Regions from separate parts of the Homo sapiens genome. Here region 1 is linked to region 2. Evidence: promoter capture Hi-C in human tissues and cell types (Jung and others, 2019). All regions are on one chromosome and are shown on one strand. The core of a region is centred on a gene start or on the middle of the fragment in contact, and the rest is flanking DNA. Distances in the headings are between cores, read along the strand shown.

The links. Contacts are between HindIII fragments. The study calls those that stand out against the background at their distance.
Region 1: a contact is called between a fragment that was not itself captured here and the fragment with the promoter of PLEKHJ1 in region 2, in 2 of the 25 tissues and cell types used here (lymphoblastoid cells and mesenchymal stem cells).

What each region holds. Positions count from the first base shown.
Region 1 is chr19:2,756,157-2,761,224 of GRCh38, reverse strand. It overlaps SGTA (small glutamine rich tetratricopeptide repeat co-chaperone alpha), which reads left to right. Exons shown (of 12, transcript NM_003021.4): 9 at 1,931-1,968; 10 at 3,443-3,532; 11 at 3,768-3,888. The coding sequence ends at 3,882. Among named protein-coding and RNA genes, the nearest start is that of SLC39A3, 19 kb to the right of the region's middle. The HindIII fragment of the contact is 7,304 bases long and covers 148-5,068 here.
Region 2 is chr19:2,234,894-2,240,094 of GRCh38, reverse strand. PLEKHJ1 (pleckstrin homology domain containing J1) reads left to right here and starts at 3,766. Exons shown (of 6, transcript NM_018049.3): 1 at 3,766-3,940; 2 at 4,105-4,172; 3 at 4,267-4,333. The coding sequence starts at 3,847. SF3A2 (splicing factor 3a subunit 2) reads right to left here and starts at 3,271. Exons shown (of 9, transcript NM_007165.5): 1 at 3,194-3,271. It overlaps MIR6789 (microRNA 6789), which reads left to right and starts at 4,169; the gene lies at 4,169-4,266. RefSeq lists enhancers at 1-363, 3,506-3,555, 3,134-3,742, 4,351-4,959, 4,962-5,201 and silencers at 2,986-3,085, 3,696-4,325. The HindIII fragment of the contact is 10,839 bases long and covers 1-5,201 here.

The DNA.
Region 1 (5,068 bases), core at 2,550-5,049, 520 kb before region 2:
CCAATGTTGATGTCCCAAGCAAGACCCATCAGTAGTGAGCACCAAAAGCTGGCTCTCCTGGCTGAGCCCAGGGAGGTCACACCCCCACCCCACCCTGGCGTGGGCTCCTCCTCGCAGTGCAGAGACACTGATCACAACACAGCAGCGTCTGCCTCCTAAGGTTCAGGCAAGGGAAGCAGAGCGCCGGGTGCGCCGGGCGCAGGTGGACCTCCCGATGCCCGGGCACTCATGCTTCCAAAGGGACGGCCTTTGGCAGGGAGTTCCTTGACTGGGATCCTCGGAGAGCCATCCCCCACACACACATGTTCATTTCCTGGGAGGTCTGTGTGCCCTGGGACCACTCTTCAGGCTCCCACAGCCTCAGGGTACAGGGACTCGCCTAAGGCTGTCGGGGAGAAAAGCCCTCAGTCTCACTGTCAGTCAGAAAAATGAGCCAGCTGGGCCAGGAGCCCTGCCCGGGTCGTGCCATTCAGCAGAGGCCACACCTCTTACTGTAGCCCTCGTCCGCTGGCCAAGCTGCCAGGGGAATATGTTCTCCCTCACCATGGGATGGAGGGTGACTGGGCCCCAGTCTTTCAAGGGGCCTCTCAGCTTGGCCATGTCACAGACGCCTTTTCCCTTCAGACATCTGGGGTTGGCAGAATAAGGCCCGCCGCTGGGTTTTGTTAATAAAGTTTTTTTTGGTTTTTTTTTTTTTTTTTTTTTTTGAGATGGAGTCTCGCTCTGTCGCCCAGGTTGGAGTGCAGTGGTGTGATCTCAGCTCACTGCAACCTCCGCCTCCCAGGTTCAAGCGATTCTCCTGCGTCAGCCTCCCGAGTAGCTGGGATTACAGGTGCCCACCACCATGCCTGGCTAATTTTGGTATTTTTTAATAGAAATGGGGTTTCACCATGTTTGCCAGGCTGGTCTCGAACTCCTGACCTTGTGATCCACCCGCCTCGGCCCCCCAAAGTGCTGGGATTACAGGTGTGAGCCACTACACCTGACCAATAAAGTTTTATTGGCACACAGCCATGCCCATTCATACACCTAGTGTCACTGGTGGCTTTCATGATACGGCGGCAGAGCTGAGTAGTTGCGTCAGGCACCCGTGTCTGAAAAGGCTGAGAGTATTTACACACTGGCCCTTTACACAGAGAGTTTGCCACACCTCTGAGCCACCTCCTTTCAACAGGTCCAAAGGAATAATCCCAAGTGGAAAGTTAACATGAGAAAGTGCCCAGTATAGTGCTATTTATTTATTTATTTATTTTTACTTCTTTTTTGAGACAGAGTCTCACTCTGTCACCCAGGCTGGAGTGCAGCGGTGTGATCTCGGCTCACTGCAACCTCCCCCTCCCAGGTTCAGGCGATTCTTGTGCCTCAGTTTCCCAAGTAGCTGGGACTACAGGCATGCACCACCACACCTGGCTAATTTCATATTTTTAGTAGAGACGGGGTTTCACCATGTTGGTTAGGCTGGTCTCGAACTCCTGACCTCAAGCGATCTGCCTGCCTCGGCCTCCTAAAGTGCTGGGATTCCAGGCGTGAACCACCGCGCCCAGCCACAGTGCTATTTATTGATAGAGCAAAACTGGAACCAAATATGCTAAATGAAATATGCTAAAGCAGACAGCAGCTAAAATAAAGAACCAAAACGCCTCCACACAGCAAAACCGCAGCAGCCAGTGAGAGAGCGCTGTGGCGCTGCGAGATCGCTCCTGAAGCAGGAACCCAAAACAGGATTTAAGTCACAATGTGGAGGTCACAGCTCGTGGGTGGGGGGGCGAAAATGTAGGGAAAAGGGTATGAAAGACCGAATGCCCGGCTCTTACTGTTGGTTGGCGTGCTGGAGTCCAGAACCAAGGCTGGTTAAGATGGAAAGTGTCTGATGAAAGAGAATGATGCGCTGGGAGCTTTGTCTTCCTGACAAATTTGTTCTGTTCTTCAGGCTTCGAACCTAATGAACAATCCCCAGATTCAGCAGCTGTAAGTGACAACCGGGTTTCTTCGGGTCTTGTTGTGGTTAAATTTCCTTTTATTGTGGGTAAATTCACTTAACATAAAACTAACCACTTTAAAGTGTGCAACTTAATGGCATTAAGGACTTTCACACTGTCATGCAACTGTCACCACTATCACACTGTCATGCAACTGTCACCACCATCACACTGTCATGCAACTGTCACCACCATTGAGCACCAACCCATCTTCATCACCTCCGAAAGAAGCCCCTTCCCCCTCAGCTGTCACTCCCCAACCCCTCTCCTATCCCCTGACAACCACGCATCCCCTTCCTGTCTCTGTGGATGGGCCTGTCCTGGACATTTCGTAGAAATGGGATCACACACTGCGTGAACTTTGGTGTCTGGCGTCTCTCACTGAGCGTGACGTCCTCAAGGTGCATGTGTGCTGGGGCCTGGGTCAGGGCCTCGCTCCTTTTCATGGCTGAGTAATATTCCAGTGTGGAGGGACCACGCTGTGCTGATCCACACATCTATCCATGGACATTTGGGCTGTTTCTACCTTTTGTCTGTTGTGAACGGTGCTGCTTGAGCACGGGTGTGCAATCGTCTGTGTGAATCCTGTTTTCGTTTCTCTTGGATATAAACTTCTGAGTGCACTCGCTGGCTCATAGGGTCACTCCCCAGTAAGCGCTGTGCGCACTGGGGAGCTGCTCACCTGTTTTCATGGTGAAATCTTTTTTTCTTTCTCCTTTTTTTTTTTTTGAGACAGAATCTTGCTCTGTCACCCAGGCTGGAGTGCAGTGGCAGAATCTTGGCTCACTGCAACCTCTGCCTCCCGGGATCAAGTGGGTCTTCCCAAGTAGCTGGAATTACAGGCATCCACCACCATGCCCGGCTGATTTTTGCATTTTTAGTAGAGATGGGGTTTCACCATGTTGGCCAGGCTGGTCTTGAACTCCTGACCTCAGGTGATCCACCCGCCTCAGCCTCCCAAAGTGCAGGGATGACAGGTGTGAGCCACCGCGGCTGGCCCACGGTCAAATCTTAAAGCATGGTTTCCCAGCCACAGCACCGTGGCCATTTGAGCTGGACCAGTTTCTGGAGCAGGGCCGTCCTGGGCACTGCAGGGTGCTGAGCACTGTCTCTAGCCTCCATCCACTCCATGCCAGGAGCACCCCCTGCCCCTGTCTTGGCGTAACCCAATCATGGCTGTTGCAAATGTCCGCTGCCATTGCAGGGGTCCTCTGGGGGCAGGATCACCCCCTGGCTGAGAACTACGCTCTTTAGGCCAAAGAAAGAGGGGTGTTCTGGGAAAGCAGGTGAAAGTCACAGGGTGGGTTTGGGCCCTGGAGGCCCACCAGGTGGTGAGAGAGAATCCTCTCCTGCAGGGGAAGGTGAAGGGCTGAGAGGGATTCTCTCCCGGGCCACTGCGAGGGCCTGCAGTGGGGGTGGCGGTCAGGCTGTCCCGGCTGCGAGTCACGCGCTCTCTCCTGCAGCATGTCCGGCATGATTTCGGGTGGCAACAACCCCTTGGGAACTCCCGGCACCAGCCCCTCGCAGAACGACCTGGCCAGCCTCATCCAGGCGTGAGTGGAACTGCTTCCAAGAGGACGGAGGACGTGGGCGGCGGGCAGGGCTCGCAGGCGGAAGGGAAGGAGGAGAGCGAAAGTGCTGCGTCCCCTGCTCCGAAGGGCCCAGCGTCCTCCAGCGAGGGGTCAGGCCTGTCTTTGGGGTGGAGGGCCCGAGGGGTCAGCTGGGGATGGACGGAGGCAGCAGGCAGCCTCCTGGCCCTGGCTGAGCCCCATGTGCCCTTCCCCGCAGGGGCCAGCAGTTTGCCCAGCAGATGCAGCAGCAGAACCCAGAGTTGATAGAGCAGCTCAGGAGCCAGATCCGGAGTCGGACGCCCAGCGCCAGCAACGACGACCAGCAGGAGTGACGCTGCGTGAGTGCATGGGGCCGGGGGCTGGGGGGTGGCCAGCAGGAGTGACACCACGTGAGTGCCTGGCAGTGAGGGCAGCCAGCAGGAGTGACGCCCGGGGGCTGTGGAGCCTGTCTGGACACTGGACAGCGAGTCCTGGGTGCATCCAGCTCAGAAGATCACCCTGAACCGCCCAGGCAGGTGGGGGCATCTCTGGGCATTGGGCCCCTTTCCAGGTGGCCACCAAGTCCTGCTCCCCACTCCTTTCCCATCTGTGGATCGGCGCTGGGTGGAGATTAGGGGAGAGCCACAGCTCCCTGGAAGGGCTGGTGTCTGGGGTCCCCCCTGCCTAAGGCCGCCTGCAGAAGCTCTTTGTTTCTGCAGTGTCGGGGCTGCCACCTCGGGGGTGGGGGCGAGGTCATCGAGTGGTGGAAAGGACAAGCCGGGTACCTGCCTTTGACTGCGCCCGAGCGTTCTGCCTGCATTTTGTGAGGGATTTTTTGTCCTTTTCTCACTGTGAGCAGGTGTTGCACTTACAGTTGTTTAAAAATACACTCAGTGTCCCCCATGGGTTCCAGGGGCCCGTGGCTGGCTTGGTTTCCTTCCCCAGGGGCCCCTGAGTTCAGTCCTGTCCGTCTCCAGCAGACACCGGCTTCCCAGGGGTGGGAGGCTCCCCTGAGTTCAGTCCTGTCTGTCTCCAGCAGACGCCGGCTCCCTGGGGGCGGGAGGCTCCGGGCCTCCCCAGAGGTGTTTCCATTCTGCTCCCATGTGGCCTCTTCATTTTGTCGTTGTCCCCTCCTCATATACACTCTCTTTCATTTTTAAACCATAATTACTGTAGACAAATTTAAAATACAAAAATGTTAAAAAGCAGCAAGAACAATCTTAATCTTTTTTTTTTTTTTTTGAGACCGTCCTGCTCTGTCCCCCCGGCTGGAGGGCAGTGGTGCAGTCACGTCTCACTGCAGCCTCAACCTCCTGGGCTCAAGCGATCCTCCCGCCTCGGCCTCCCAAAGTGTGAGCCGTGCATTCAGCCCAACCTTAATCTTCTCACCCAGAGCCACCAACATTAATATTTTGGCCGCCTTTTCTTCCAGTCTTCCCTTTTTTTTTTAAATAAGCTTTTATTTATTTTTCCTTTTCTTTTTTTAATAGTTGAGGTGGATTTTTTACCACCGTAACCTCATACACAAAGTACCACCAT
Region 2 (5,201 bases), core at 2,517-5,016:
GGCCCGCTCCTTGCCAGGCCACTGGGCAGTTGACCTCCCTGGATGAGAAGTGGCGCTCACACAGAGCTGCCGGCCGCTTTGTTCTTAAAGAGAAACACACGCATCCGAGAACAAAGAGACTGATGGGTATCCCAGTAAGAGATCGCTGACACCCTCCTTCATTATCGGGGGAAGCCACTGCACCACAAACCCAGAACAGGAAGCTGAATGACAAGCTGAATTAAAACAAAAAGCCCTTGAAAAATACAGACAGGACGATCCAAACAAAAAATTCCATACCAGAGTTGGAAGCTGAGCCAAACAAATCTTTCATAAAGGAAAGTCAAAAGTTAAAAAAACAGGAGGAAAAGCAAGAACCTAGAGGACATTCCAGAGTGAGAACTGAAAAAACACCCAACAAAATAAAACAGGAAAAATATTATCACAGAAATAACATAAGAACATTAGCAAGAAAATTAAAAACAAAAACAAAACCCAGGACTAAAGGAACCAAACTGTCCAGATACCAAGCACCCACCAGGATCAGCAAATAAAAAGATCCCCGGTAAATGAGGAAATCAGGAAATTTTACGACACCAAGGAAGATGTTAAGCTTCTACTAGACAGAAAGACAACTGAGCAGAAAACATCAGAAACCAGCATAGGAACTGATCTTTTGAGAACAGCACTGAAAACAATGCTTTCACAGTTCTGAGCAAATACAGATTTTTTTCTCTCTCTTTTTTTTTTTTTTTTTTTGAGACGGATTCTCGCTCTGTCGCCCAGGCAGTAGCTCGATCTTGGCTCACTGCAACCTCCACCTCCCAGGTTCAAGCCATTCTCCTGCCTTAGCCTCCCGAGTAGCTGAGATTACAGGCACATGCCAAAACGCCTGGCAAATTTTTATATTTTTAGTGGAGATGGGATTTCGCCAGGTTGGCGAGGCTGGTCTCAAACTCCCAAACTCAGGTCATCCGCCCGCCTCAGCCTCCCAAAGTGCTGGGATTACAGGCGTGAGCCACCACGCCCGGCCTACAAATACAGATTTTCAATCTAGATTTTTATACCCCACCAAACTTCTAACTATGAGGGTAAATAAACTCGTTTTCAGACAATCAAGGACTTCCCCCACCCCCCGAAAAAAATCATCTGTTTCTTCAAAAGCTCCCAGAAGTTTTGCTCGGACAGCATGAAGGGAAAGAGATGACCACACTGGAAACAGAGGTCAGCACAGGGGAGCAAGGACAGGAAGGTTTGGGACAACAGCTCCACTTCCAGGTCAGAGCACAACCAGTCCCATTTGGAGGAGGAGGATAAGGGGGTCTTGGAGGGAAGTGGTGAGGGGAGATCAATTTATTTAAACCTATGCAAAATACAACTGATAGGTGTGTGAGAGGTGGGAGCTTTGTGGGGAAAAAACAAACAGCAGGTAAAAGAAAATCAGGCTCATGGTAAAAACAAAGTTAATTAGCTTTAAGGGAAGATAGAATGGTACAAGAAAAGCCTAGCTGAACATATTACTTGTTTTAGCAGCCAACAATATTTTGCATCTTATTTAGAAAACACAACCAATGACCAACTATGCTCATGACATAAACTCATTCAGGATATGGAAGGTGAAGGTGCAGTGGGTGGATGGGAGGGAGAAGATCTCAACAGCCGTGACAAGAAATCAGCAGATGATGTCTACAAATTGATAAATCCATGAAGAAATCTGTTACTTACTAAGGTAAAGATCAGGGGACAGCCTGGCCAACCTGGTAAAACCCCATCTCTACAAAAAATACAAAAATTAGCCGGGTGCAGTGGCTCATGCCTGTAATCCTACCACTTTGGGAGGCCGTGGCAGGTGGATCACCTGGTCAGGAGTTCGAGACCAGCCTGGGCAACATGGCGAAACCTCGTCTCTACAAAAAATACAAAAATTCGCCGGACATGGTGGTGAGCACCTGTGATCCCAGCTACTCGAGAGGTTGAGGCAGGAGGATGGCTTGAGCATGGGAGTTTGAGGCTGGAGTAAGCTGTGATTGCACCACTGCACTCACTCCAGCCTGGGTGACAGAGCAAGACCCTGTCTCAAAACAAACAAAAAACCGATGACGACCAGGGGAAATGAGCTTAAGAATTGAGGAAAAGTGGCCTCTGGGACCTGGGACTAGACCATTGAGAAGGAATTAGTTTTTCGTGGCAACACCGTTCTCTCCTTAACCTAGCCAACAACCTATTTTCCAGAGCTCCGCCTGGCTGTTTGGTGTCGTCCAAGGATACACAAGAACAACGGTCACAGCGGGGTGCACCTGCAAAATGGGGCCAGCTAACGTGTTCTGGTCGCCTTTGGCATGATGTTGAAGCCGTCACTCCCATTTTAAGGGAACTGAGGCTCACAGGAATTACATCACAGAGCCCCAGTCAACTAACAGGTATAGATGAGCATACAGAAGCGTTCTCGGCTACAAGGAAGGCGGCCGAAACCATTTCAGCCGCGATCCCGATTCGACCCCAACGAATCTTGGTTGTTTCTTTTTTATTTTGTCAAACAGGGTCTTGCTCTGTTGTCCAGGCTGGAGTGCAACGGCACAATCACAACTCACTGCAGCCTCGACCTCCTGGACTCAAGCGATCTTCCCGCTTCAGCCTCCAGAGTAGCTGGGACTACAGGCGCGCGTCACCAACCACGCCCGGCTAATTTTTTTTTTTTTTTTTTTTGCAGTGATGGGGTCTCGCTATGTTGCCCAGGCTGGAGTGCAGTGGTGGGATCATGGCTCACTGCAGCCTCGACATTCCGAGCTCAAGCGATCCTCTCGAGTAGCTGGGCCTACAGGTACAACCACCACTCCTGGCTAATTTTTTAAAATTTTTTGTAGAGATGGGGGTCTCGGTGTGTTGTCCAGGCTGGTCTCGAACTCCTGGCCTCAAGCGATCCTCCCGCCAAGGCCTCCCTGAGCAGTGAGATTACAGGCGTGAGGCCCCGCGCGCGGCCTCCCAACAGGAGTTTGGAAATAGAGTTCCTGGCGGGCCCGACCCTCCAGGCCCGCCCAGCGCGGGGCCTCAGGATGCACAAGGCCGGACGCTCACGGGAGGAGGGAGGGGAGCGACGCCGCCGCCCCACCCTCGGCCCGCGGCCTGTCGCAAGCGCCTCTCTCCTACGTCCGCTGTCCCCCAGGGAACCCCCGGTCCGCGTCGGCCGCCGCCCTCAACCGCCTCTACTCCTCACCAGAGCCCAAGGCCGCGTTATCTCCTCCTCGTTTCGCCACCTCCACGACTTCGTTTGGCGAACGGCGGGCAAAGAAAGCACTTCCGGGGCAAATGAGACGGGCCCTCTGGTGTGCGCATGCCTGGCCCGCCCAGCGGCGTGAGTCAGAGGGTCCCGAGGCGCGAAGGAAAAGGCTGGAGGGGGAGAGGCTGAAAGCGCGGCCTGGAAGGCAAACTGCGCGTGCGCACAACGCTCTCAACGAACCCTCGGTCCGCTGCGGCCGCACGGGGCCAACTTTCGCGAGGGAGCGGCTGACACTCTCCGGGCGACGTTATCGCTCCCTCCGCCTGCGCCTGGCCGCTCTAGAAAGGGGTGCCAGCCATCGCTGGGGTGCCTTGATTCTGTTCCACCTTGGTCCGGTTTATTTCAGTTTAATGGTTATGTAACAACGGTCCGTCTCTCCTACCAACCGGTACCCCGCCCACGCCAGCAGCCACGGGTCGCCAGCGCCACGCAGCGGAGGCGGGCGGCATGGCTGGCCCAAGGTGCGCAGGCGCACTAGCCCTGGGGGTGCTTCCGTGTCTGCGCCCTGAGACATTTTTGGCGCCGGCCCCAGCCTGAGCGGGGACGGCGGCCGGGAGGGCGCGGCCCGGGTTCCCGTTCCCCGCGGAGCCATGCGGTACAACGAGAAGGAGCTGCAGGCTCTGTCCCGGCAGCCGGCCGAGATGGCGGCCGAGCTGGGCATGAGGGGCCCCAAGAAGGGCAGCGGTGAGCGGGACCCGGGAGACCGAGACAGTGCCAGGGGCGGGAGGCCGGGGCCGGGGTCTGGGCGGGGGTGCCGGAGGCCGGAGTCCGGGTCGGGGCGCCGGGGACGGGAGGCCGGGGTCCGGGCGGGGGCTGCCTGCGCCCCTGAGTGCGCGCTGTGCCCGCAGTGCTGAAGCGGCGGCTGGTGAAGCTGGTGGTGAATTTCCTCTTCTACTTTCGGACAGACGAGGCCGAGGTAGGGGCGTCCCGGGCGCGCGGGCGGGTCCCAGGCTGGGCCCCTCGGAGGCCGGGTGCTCACTGCCCCGTCCCGGCGCCCGTGTCTCCTCCAGCCCGTCGGAGCCCTGCTGCTGGAGCGCTGCAGAGTCGTCCGGGAAGAGCCCGGCACCTTCTCCATCAGTGAGTGGGGCTAGGGAAGCCAGCGGCGCTTCCCGCAGCCCGGGGCACCCGCAGCGCCGCACTTTCCCCTCCCCGGGCGCCCAAGGTCTCCTCTGTGTCCCCAGCCTGGCGCCACCCTCCTCAAACACAAGAGTGCATTGTCCACGGGCAGCTCAAGGTCAAGTTCTCCTGGCGGGCACCACCCTTCCCACCTGCCGAGTCCACTTAAGCTTGGGTCCCTCCCAGACTCTGCTCTTTGTTCCCTGTGGGCCCAGGCTGTACTTACAGGGCAGGTGGGCCAGCCCCACCCAAAGCGTTTCCCCAGCTGCCAAGAGTAGCATGGGTCTAGCATTGTTATATGGCCCCGGGCTGGAAATCCCAGGTGGGGGTAGGAGGAGTGAGAGGGGGGTGTTCTCCTGGGTCTTAAGAGATTCCCTTCTGCGGGGAAAGATGGAGTCCCTGCTAGTTTGCCCAGAGTGGCTGTCAAAATTCCACAGGCCAGGTGGCTTAAATATCAGAAACATTCTCTACAGTTCTGGAGGCCAGAAATCCTAGATGAAGGTGTGGGTGGGGCCGAATCCTTCTGAGGCCGAGGGGAATCTCCCAGTTCCTAGTGGTGGCCAGTATCCTCCAGGTTCCTTGGCTTGTGGAAGCGTCACCTTGTCCTCCTTGCATCACGTCTGTGCCCACATTTCCCCTTCTACACAGACGCCAAGCAGAATTTAGGGCCCACCCTGACAACCCCTTTTTACTTCACTTTATTATTTTATTTGCTTATTTTTTGAGACAGGGTCTTGGTATGTCGCCCAGGCTGGAGTGCAGTGGTGCAATCTCGGCTCCCTGTAACTTCCCCCTCTCGGGTTCAAGTGATTCTCCTGCCTCAGCCTCC